2 separate regions of the Homo sapiens genome follow, and region 1 is linked to region 2. Evidence: promoter capture Hi-C in human tissues and cell types (Jung and others, 2019). All regions are on one chromosome and are shown on one strand. Each heading gives the region's core, a stretch centred on a gene start or on the middle of the fragment in contact. The rest is flanking DNA. Distances are from core to core; before and after follow the strand shown.

Evidence for each region. The method cuts DNA at HindIII sites, captures the fragments that hold promoters and counts their contacts. A contact is called where the count stands out against the background at its distance.
Region 1: a contact is called between a fragment that was not itself captured here and the fragment with the promoter of NDC1 in region 2, in 1 of the 25 tissues and cell types used here (H1 embryonic stem cells).

The regions. Positions count from the first base shown.
Region 1 is chr1:52,527,118-52,532,088 of GRCh38, forward strand. All of the region lies in intron 1 of TUT4 (terminal uridylyl transferase 4), which reads right to left. LOC105378723 (a long non-coding RNA gene) reads left to right here and starts at 4,265. Exons shown (of 4, transcript XR_007066083.1): 1 at 4,265-4,382. The HindIII fragment of the contact is 4,129 bases long and covers 1,307-4,971 here.
Region 2 is chr1:53,836,706-53,841,651 of GRCh38, forward strand. It overlaps NDC1 (NDC1 transmembrane nucleoporin), which reads right to left and starts at 1,591. Exons shown (of 18, transcript NM_018087.5): 1 at 1,500-1,591. The coding sequence starts at 1,556. It also overlaps the pseudogene RPL37P7. RefSeq lists a silencer at 1,345-1,474 and an enhancer at 1,585-2,064. The HindIII fragment of the contact is 21,020 bases long and covers 1-4,946 here.

The DNA of each region.
Region 1 (4,971 bases), core at 2,121-4,620, 1.3 Mb before region 2:
CCAACTAGCATCTATTTGTACCTCTAGCCTACCTCGAACTTACCTCAAACTTGACTCTCTAAATATGGGAAAACAATAGACTTTCTCCACCTTGAAGTAAAAACGGGTTCAAATGAATTCGCTGAAGTATACTTTAAAAACCAACAGGGGCCGGGTGCAATGGCTCATGCCTGTAATCCCAACACTTTGGGAGGCCAAGGCGGGCGGATCACGAGGTCAGGAGTTCAAGACCAGCCTGACCAACATAGTGAAACCCTGTCTCTACTAAAAACACAAATATCAGCTGGGCGTGGTGGCACATGCCTGTAATCCCAGCTACTCGGGAGGCTGAGGCAGGAGAATTGCTTGAACCGGGACCCAGGAGGCGGAGGTTGCAGTGAGCCAAGATCGCACCACTGCACTCCAGCCTGGGCCACAGAGTAAGACTCTGTCTCAAAAACAACAACAACAAAAAGGAACTTAAGAGTTTAAAAAAAAACAAAAGTAATAGTAATAATCTCTATGACACTATAATAGTGAATATCTGTCATTACACATTTGTATAATGATACAAAATGCACATTACCAAGAATGAACCCTAAAGTAAACTATAGACACTGGGTGATAAGGTATCAATGCGGGCCAATGTAGGTTCATCCACTGTAATAAACATGCTACTCTGGTGCCAGATGTTGAAAGTGGGGGAGGCTATGCATGTGTGGATGCAGGGTATATATGGCAACTTTGCACTTTCTGCTCAATTTTGCTGTGAACCTAAAAGTGTTCTAAAAAATAATGTCAGCCAGGCATGGTGCCTCACGCCTGTAATCCCAGCACTTTGGGAGGCCGAGGTGGGCAGATCACAAGGTCAGGAGTTCGAGACCAGCCTGGCCAACATGGTGAAACCCCGTCTCTACTAAAAATACAAAAATTAGCCGGGTACAGTGGTGGGCGCCTGTAAAATCCTACCTATTTAAGAGGCTGAGGCGGGAGAATTGCTTGAACCCGGGAAGCGGAAGTTGCAGTGAACTGAGATCGCGCCACAGCACTCCAGCCTGGGTGACAGAGCAAGACTCCATCTCGAAAAAAATAATAATAATAATAATAATAATGTCAAGGCCAGGCACATGGCTCACACCTGTAATCCCAACATTTTGGGAGGCCGAGGCTGGCGGATTGAGTCCAGGAGTTCAAGACCAGCCTGGACAACATGGTGAAACCCCATCTTTACAAAGAAAACAAAAATTAGCCGGCCACTGTGGCATGCGCCTGTAGTCCCAGCTACTTAGGAGGCTGAGGTGGGAGGATCGCTTGAGACCAGGAGGCAGAGGTTGCGGTGAGCCAAGATTGCATTCCTGCATTCCAGTCTGGGCAACAGAGTGAGACCCTGTCTCAAAAAAAAAAAAAAAAAGTGATTTTATTAAAAAATCAGGATGTTTTTTACTATTCACTTTGCCCTATACACCTTAAATTCAGATCCGTTTCTAAACAAACATTAATAATATGAATAAAAATTAGAGTCCTTCTGCCAGCAAAAGCAAACTGCATAGAATTAAAATGTACCATCTTTGATTTTACTTGGTTGATTTACTAAATTACAAATTTAGGTAAACATCTCTATCATATAACTTTACATCATATAAACAAAAAAATCCTACCTAAAATAAAGAGTTCACTCTTTAATAATCACTCACTGCAGCCTGGAACTCCTGGGCTCAAATGATCCTCCTGCCTCAGCCTCCCAAGCAACTAAGAACACAGGCGCACACCACCACACCTGGCTAATTTTTTTTTGTTGTAGAGACAAAGTCTCACTATGTTGCTCAGGCTTGTCTCAAACTCATGGCCTCAAGTGACCCTCCCATCTCAGTCTCCCAAAGCACTGGGATTACAGGAATGAGCCACCACACTTGGCCAATAATTCTTCTTTATAGTGCAGTCCTCTACATTCTCTGCCTTGCTTTTCCAGAGTAATACTGTCTTTTACTTTAAAAATGTATTAGGTTCTTCTTTCTAAATTATTATAATGAAAACTAAAGTCAAAACCACACTAGATATGGTGTCAGTTGGAGTCTAGCAAAGTATATTTAAAAATTTTTTAATTAAAAAAAATTTTAAACCACACTACATTTTCACCATTAATATTTTGACTAACATTTTCCAGTAAAAGCTATAGAAACTTACAACTGCAAAAGAATGCTTTTGCTCCTAATTTTTATACATATGAATTTGTTTAATTAATACATTTTGCTTTTATTATTCTTGATAAGGTGTTTTACATAACTGTCAGAAAAGTTGTCAAAACATATGACTATTTCTAAATTCTTGTGAGAACTGCTGCAGGTTCCTCACTTTAACAACTAAAATGAGCTCTGTTTCAAAAATTAAAATGAGTTATATTTCTAAAAGATTAGTTTTACCTTGTCTAGTAACCAAAATATCTTTAAATTTTTAATGCTAGTCTGCTATAACGATTCTTTAATAATTTTGTAGATGTCATCTGACAAAAGCCATAAAACAACAAAGATTTGAAATAACAATGCTGATTCACAATTTTGCTTGTAAAACATTTTAGACAATTTATTCATCCACTTAAAAAATACTCCATAAATCAAGTTTGTATACATAAACAAAAGCTACAAAGATTAAAAAAAGAAAAAAATCAATGTACCTAATATAGATCAATGTACCCGGAGAGTCCCAGGCTCAGAAAATTGACAGGTTTTCATTTTGAGTAATCTTTTTCTTCTTCTTCTTTCTTGAGACATGGTCTTGCTCTGTCGTTCAGGTTGGGGGGTAAAGTGGCACAATTACGGTTCACTGCAGCCTTGACCTCCCTAGGCTCAAGCAATCCTCCCATCTCAGCCACCCAACTAGCTGGGACTACAGGTGTGTGCCACCATGCCAAGCCAATTCTTGTATTTTTTGTAGAGACAGGATTTCGCTATCTCACCCAGGCTGGTTTCGAAGCCCTGAGCTTAAGCAATCCTCCTGCCTCGGCTTCCCAAACTGCTAGGACTACAGGCATGAGTCACTGCGTCAGCTACTTTGAGTAATTTTTCATATAACTAAAAATACATTTAAATTACTAATAGGAGGTTGCAGTGAGCCGAGACCACGCCATTGCACTCCAGCCTGGGTGACAGAGTGAGACTCCATCTCAAAAAAAAAAAAAAAAAAAAATTGCTAATAGGAATATGTGTTATGAAAAAGACTGTATTTTCTCATCTTCCTCACCTTTATTTTTTACTTTTTAAGGGTACACAGTAGGTGTATATATTTATGGGGTACAAGAGATGTTCCAGTACAGGCATGCAATGTAAAACAAGCGCATCATAGAGAATGGGGTATCCATCCCCTCAAGCATTTATCCTTTGAGTTACAAACAATCCAATTACACTCTTTATTTGTAAAAGTACAATTAAGTTATAATTAACGATAATCACCCCCACATCTTTTCTTGTAAGAGTAGCCAATGTCTTATTGCCTCAAAAATTTTATCACAAAATTGCTATTTTCAATTTTTTCTTTGAAGCTATCAAGAGTACAAAATTTTCCCCAAAAAGATGTAATTCCTAGAAACGAAGTTCTCTCGGAGGAGAGAGTATTTTGAAGATAAGGCTCAGCTGGGAACAGTGACTCACACCTGTAATCTCAGCTGCATAGGAGGCTGAGGTAGGCTGATTGCTTGAGCTCGCAAGTTCGAGGCCAGCCTGGGCAACATGGTAAAACCCTGTCTCTACAGAAAATACATAAATTAGCCAGGTGTGGTGGTATGCGCCTGTAGTTTCAGCTACTTGGGAGGCTGAGGTAGGAGGATGGCTTGAGCCCAGGAGGGAGAGGTTGCAGTGACCTGAGATAGCACCACTGCACTCCAGGCTAGGTGATAAGAGCCAGAACTTGTCTCAAAAAAAGAAAAGAAATGAAGGCTCACTGCTTCCCCTGCACACTTTACTTGGTTGAAACAAATAAAAATAATAGAATTCAAATAACCTCAAATCATGGAAAAAAATATTATCAGAACTAACCTCTAGTTCTTGGTTACATTTTTAGAATGTGGTAAATGGGTATTAAATGAAATTCTAACCTTAAATAACCAACTATATCTTAATAATTATCAAGAAAAAGTACTTTTTTTTTTTTTTCAGAGCCAGGGTCTCCCTGTGTCACCCAGGCTGGGGTGCAGTGATGCCATTCTAACTCACTACAGCTTCGAATTCCTGGGCTAAGACGATCCTCCCAGCTGATGTGGCTGGACTGGGGGGCCACACTTAATGAACCATGGCTGTAAGAAGTGATCCTGAAAGTGATCCTGAAAGCAGAAATGAAGGGACTTCTGTACAGTCTTACAGTGAACAATCTGATTCGTGTCAGTCTCCCCATGAGATTCTCAAGTCTATGAGGTAAGAAATCATTTCTGATTTTGCTTATCATTACATCTTCTGGGCATACCACAGTGCCTAATACAAAGTAGGCACCCAATAAATGGGTTAAATGGATTTTTTTAAAGTAATCTGAATTATTTTTAATTGTTCACACTTTAAAAATACATGAAATCCAAAAGATGTTTAATTGCATCATACTTTATGTTGTCTACAATATAACTAGGAAATGTCTCTCTTTCAGAAAGCTTTCCATAACCTACTCCTCCACCCTCTTACCCAGGGTGGGCTCAGATAAGTATGCCTCTTCTTAATGAACTCTTTTTACTTTTCTCACAGCACTTAGCACTTAAACCTATTTATGTTTTTACTTCCTATCTGAACAGTAGAGACTGTCTTTTCTCATCTTTTTTTTTTTTTTTTTTTTTTTTTTTTTGAGACAGAATCCCACTCTGCTGCCAAGCTGGAGTGCACTCTCAGCTCACTGCAACCTCCACTTCCCAGGTTCAAGCAAATCTCCTGCCTCAGCCTCCTGAGTAGCTGGGACTACAAGCGTGTGCTACCACGCCCAGCTAATTTTTGTATTTTTAGCAGATACGGGGTTTTACCA
Region 2 (4,946 bases), core at 341-2,840:
GTGATCCTCCCACCTCAGCCTCCCAAAGTGTTAAGATTACAGGCGTGAGCCACAGCGCCCAGCCTCCTATCCCACATTCTATACAAAAATTAACTCAAAATGGATTAAAGACCTACATGTAAGAGCTAAAACTATAAAACTCTTGGAAGAAAACATAGGAGTAAACCTTCATGATCTTGGATTTGGCAATGGTTTCTTAGATATGACACCAAAAGCATAAGCAACAAAAGAAAAATATAGATAAATTGGACATCAGCAATATTTAAAACTTTTTTGCTTCAGAAGACACTGTCAGCCAAGTGCGGTGGCTCACAAGTGCCAAAGGTGGCAACAACCCAAATACCCACATACTGATGAATGGATAAACAAAATATGTGGTATGTCCATACAGTGGATTATTCAGCCACAAAAAGGAATGAAGTACTCATGCATGCTAAACATACACCAGGCACGATGGCATGCACCTGATGTCCCAAATAGTTAGGCGGCTGAGGCAGGAGGACTAGTTGAGCCCAGGAGCTCAAGACCAGGCTGGAGAAGATATCGTATCTCTATTATAAAAATAATTTTTAAAAAAATTTTAGAGGCCAGGCACGGTGGCTCACGCCTGTAATCTCAGCACTTTGGGAGACCGAGGCGGATGACTCACTTGAGGTCAGGAGTTCAAGACCGGCCTGACCAACATGGTGAAACCCCATCTCTACTAAAAATACAAAAATTAGCTGGGCGTAGTGGTGCGTATCTATAATCCCCGCTCCTCGGGAAGCTGAGGCAGAACTCCTTGAACCCTGGAGGCGGGGGTTGCAGTGAGCCGACAACGCGCCATTGCACTGCAGCCTGGGCAACAGGGAGCGAGCCTCCGGCTCAAAAAAAAAAAAAGATAAGACTTACGGACCCAAAAGTTTTTAGTTTGGAATACAGGGGAGATGGCAGTGCACTGGGATAGAAGCACTTTTCCAAAAGGGATCTTTCTCCTCTTTCTCTTTGCACTCCAGAGAAGCGATGTAGTACTGTTAATTCCGTAACTTTAAGGAGGAAGTACTATTCCACTCAGCTCAGTCCCATTCTACCTTACAAAGAACACCTGCCCTGCTTACTGGACCCTAACCCCAGCCTCTACTAATGCCACATTTCTTTCCAATTCCGTGCATTCCTTCCCACTTCTTAACGAAACAAATTAAGTTATTTATTTTGCACCTACTGGATACGGTACCCTTGCGTAAAACTCCGCCTCACTCCCTATTCCAATTTCCATTCAGTCCATCCGTCCCACTCTGACCAGCTTCCTTCCACTCAGGACCCCTCTCCTACCCCGTAACCAACTTCCACTCAGGACTTCCCACAACCCTGCAATCAGTCCCCCAAGTGGTGCCTTCCCCACGCGTTCTCTCCACGCTGCCCCGGGACCGGCCCTCCCCCGCCCAGCGCGCACGCGCGATCAGAGCTTGCCCGCCCGGCCCGACCCTGGCAGTGCGTGCCACAGTGCACGCCGCACTCACGCGCCACAGTATGTCCCGCGACCTGCCGGCGCAGGGCCGGCTCACGGCCGTGGCCATGGAGATGGCGGCCCCTAGTCTAGGGCGTACAGGAGACCGTGCGCCCGCCCGCCACCGCAGTTCAAAGGCAGGAAGGCCCCAGGAGGACCCTGCTGGGTCTGCCTCAAACGCTGCCTGAGCGAAGCCCGGCCCAGGCTCCAACCCATCCCTGCGAGGCTTCGTCTGGACAAGCTCAACAGGCCAGGACTGCCGCGCAGACACGTCCCGCAAACGCGGCTGTAACTCCAGGAACCGCCCTCTGGCGACCAAACGGTCCCTTCGAAGCAGGGTCCAGCGGGGCGCCAGAAGCAGGTGGCGGCGCTGCATGCTGGGAACTGTAGTCTCGACGGCCCCCTGAGAGGAAGTAGGAGGAATGTTGCATTCTGGGACTCGGAGTTCCAAAGTACAGAATGCTGGGAGTCAAGGTCTTCCTGGAGGTGCCTTGAGGCATGCTGGGAATAGTAGTCTTTTATAAAGCCGATAACAGCCACAGTATTGATTGACTGGAATTCTTCAGTTAGAGCTAGCAAAATGATCTGCCCTCATTTCTCCCTATTACTTTATAAGTCACCTAAAAGTGAAACCAAAGGATGTGGTGGTCTTCTCCACAATAGGTACGCAGTAATTTTACTGAAATAAAAAAAAAATTCTCTAGAGATGCCTTTGGTTTCATAAAATCTGGTTTCTACTTCCAGATCTGCCACTTGCTAAATTGAATATTTTTATCTTCTCTGAGCCTCCATTTCTTCAACAGTAAGATAAGGATGAAAATAAAAATATCCTGGTGATGTTGTGAGGATGTAAATAATATGCTATACAAATGTTATCATTAATATACTGCCAGTAAGAAAAAAGGTGTTTCACCAACCCAAGTTTCACCTAATGAAGTCTTCTCAGTGCTTTAGACCTCAGTGAGATCTCTGGATGCATATCGCTAACGCCTTTTTATGCTCAATCACATGCCACAGTCAACATGCAATACTCAAGACAGAAATAGATTCAGTGATTTACTGACTAAGGAAATGCATAGGCTGGTGAGAGGAATTGAGATCACACCTACTGCTCTGCAACGTTTGCTAACAATGGCTTCCTGAATGCTTTAAGATTATATCCTATTCACTTCCAAAATCATGTTACTATCAATCATGTCTAAAGCACTGTAGGACAAACTGGGAATACAACTGATAGATCAAGTCTCTGCCGTGAAGAGATCTATCCGGTGGTGGAGAAAACTTGTAAAGAATTAGTCCAGGCCAGGCACAGTGGCTCACACCTGTAATCCCAGCACTTTGGGAGGCCAAGGCAGGAGGATCACAAGCCAGGAGTTTGAGACCAGCCTGGGCAACATAGTGAGACCTCATCTCCACAAAAACAACAACAACAACAACAACAAACTTTTTTTTAAATTAGCCGGGTGTAGTGGTGCACACCTGTAGTCCAAGCTACTCCATAGACTGAGGCAGGAGAATTGCTTGAACCTGGGAGGTTCAGGCTGAAGTGAGCAGTGATGGCGCCATCACACTCCAGACTGGGCCATAGAGTGAGACCCTGTCCAAAAAAAAAAAAAATCAGTCCAAATGCGTGTTCATAAAGACACCTCAGGTTCTAAGGTTCTTGTGGTAGAGACTACTCGTTGTCTGCCTCAATATCTATTCTCCCCTTCTTTCATAATAATTGAACTCCCAGTTTTTTAACTGGGCATATAGTTATATTTCCCAGCCTCTTTTGCAGCTAGGTATGGCCAGCTGACTGAGTTCAGGCCAATAAAATATAATCAAAGTATTGCATGGTAGCTTCCTAGAAACCCCCTTAAAAGGGAGCTACTGCATGATGGTCTTTGCCTCTTCTTAATCCCATCCTCCATTCAGCTGCCTGGATTTGGGATGTGTTGGCTGCAGCTCTAGCACCATACTGGACCACAGAAAGGGGGTCACACTGTAGGGAAAATGAAGTACTGAGCCTAAAGGAGACTTGATTATTTATGGCAACCATATCAGTTCTAGGCTACCTGCCTTTACCTCCTAATTTCATTTACACAAGAGAGACAATTATTTATTGTTTAAGCCACATCTATTTTTTTTTTTTTTTGAGACAGAGTCTCACTCCTTTGCCCAGGCTGGAGTGCAGTGGCATGATCTCAGCTCACTGCAACCTCCGCCTCTCGGGTTCAAGTGATTCTCCTGCCTCAGCCTCTTGAGTAGCTGGGATTACAGGCGCATACTACCATGCTGGCTAATTTTTGTATTTTTTAGTAGAGACGGGGTTTTGCCATGTTGGCCAGGCTGGTCTCAAACTCCTGACCTCAGGTGATCTGCCTGCCTCAGCCTCCCAAAGTGCTGGGATTACAGGCATCAGCCATCGCATCCAGCCTCTGCTTCTGTTTTTATAGCACCTATCACAGTCTTAAATCATCTTGTTTGTTTACTTCTTATTGTCTGACTTCTCACTAATATACAGACTTCACAAGAGCAGGGACTTTGTCTTGTTTATCATCGCTTCCAAAGTACCCATTACATTAGTAAGTAATAAATGAATTTTTATTTAATGAATAATGAATGAGTGGAAGAAATTAACTATATTGGACAGTGTTTCTTCAGGACAAAAACTTTTGATACCTATATCAAAGGGGGATTTAATGCAGGGAATTGATAACAAAGTTGTTGGAGAGGCTAAAAAAGCATAGGAAAGAAAGAACGGGGCTGTAGTAGCTAAGAGCAGAATGGAGTTACTGCCCAAATACCAGGAAGCTACTGCTTCCATTTAGAGCCATGAGACAACACTGAATGCTGAGCTGCTGAGGGTGGTGCCCCTGCTGCTGTTAGAACCACTCTGTTGATTTGAGCACCCTGTAGCTGCTGAAAGCACCACCCAGAAGTGCCTGCAACTATCCAAAGTTGCTCTCTGAGCCTTTGAAAGCCATAACCTGGCCGAGTGTGGTGGCTCACACCTGTAATCCGTTTGAATTACTTTGGGAGGCCAAGGTGGGCGGATCACAAGGTCAGGAGATTGAGAACATCCTGGCCAACATGGTGAAACCCCGTCTCTACTAAAAATACAAAAATTAGCTGGGCATGGTGGCACATGCCTGTAGTCCCAGCTACTCAGGAAGCTGAGGCAGGAGAATAGCTTGAACGAGGGAGGTGGAGGTTGCAGTGAGCTGAGATCGTGCCACTGCACTCTAGCCTGGAGACAGAGTGAGACTGCATCTCAAAAAAAAGAAAAGAAAAGAAAAAGAAAGCTATAAACTAATTATTTGAAATAGAATAAATTTTTTAAATGATACAAGACCTCTTTGGTCTCAGCCACAAAGGGAACACCATCGTTTGGAAAGCATTGCAGTAAGACACACATGTTGTGCTGCTGCTGTGCCCCTAAGGCCTATGCCCTTCAGTAGTCAACCTGTGGCACATG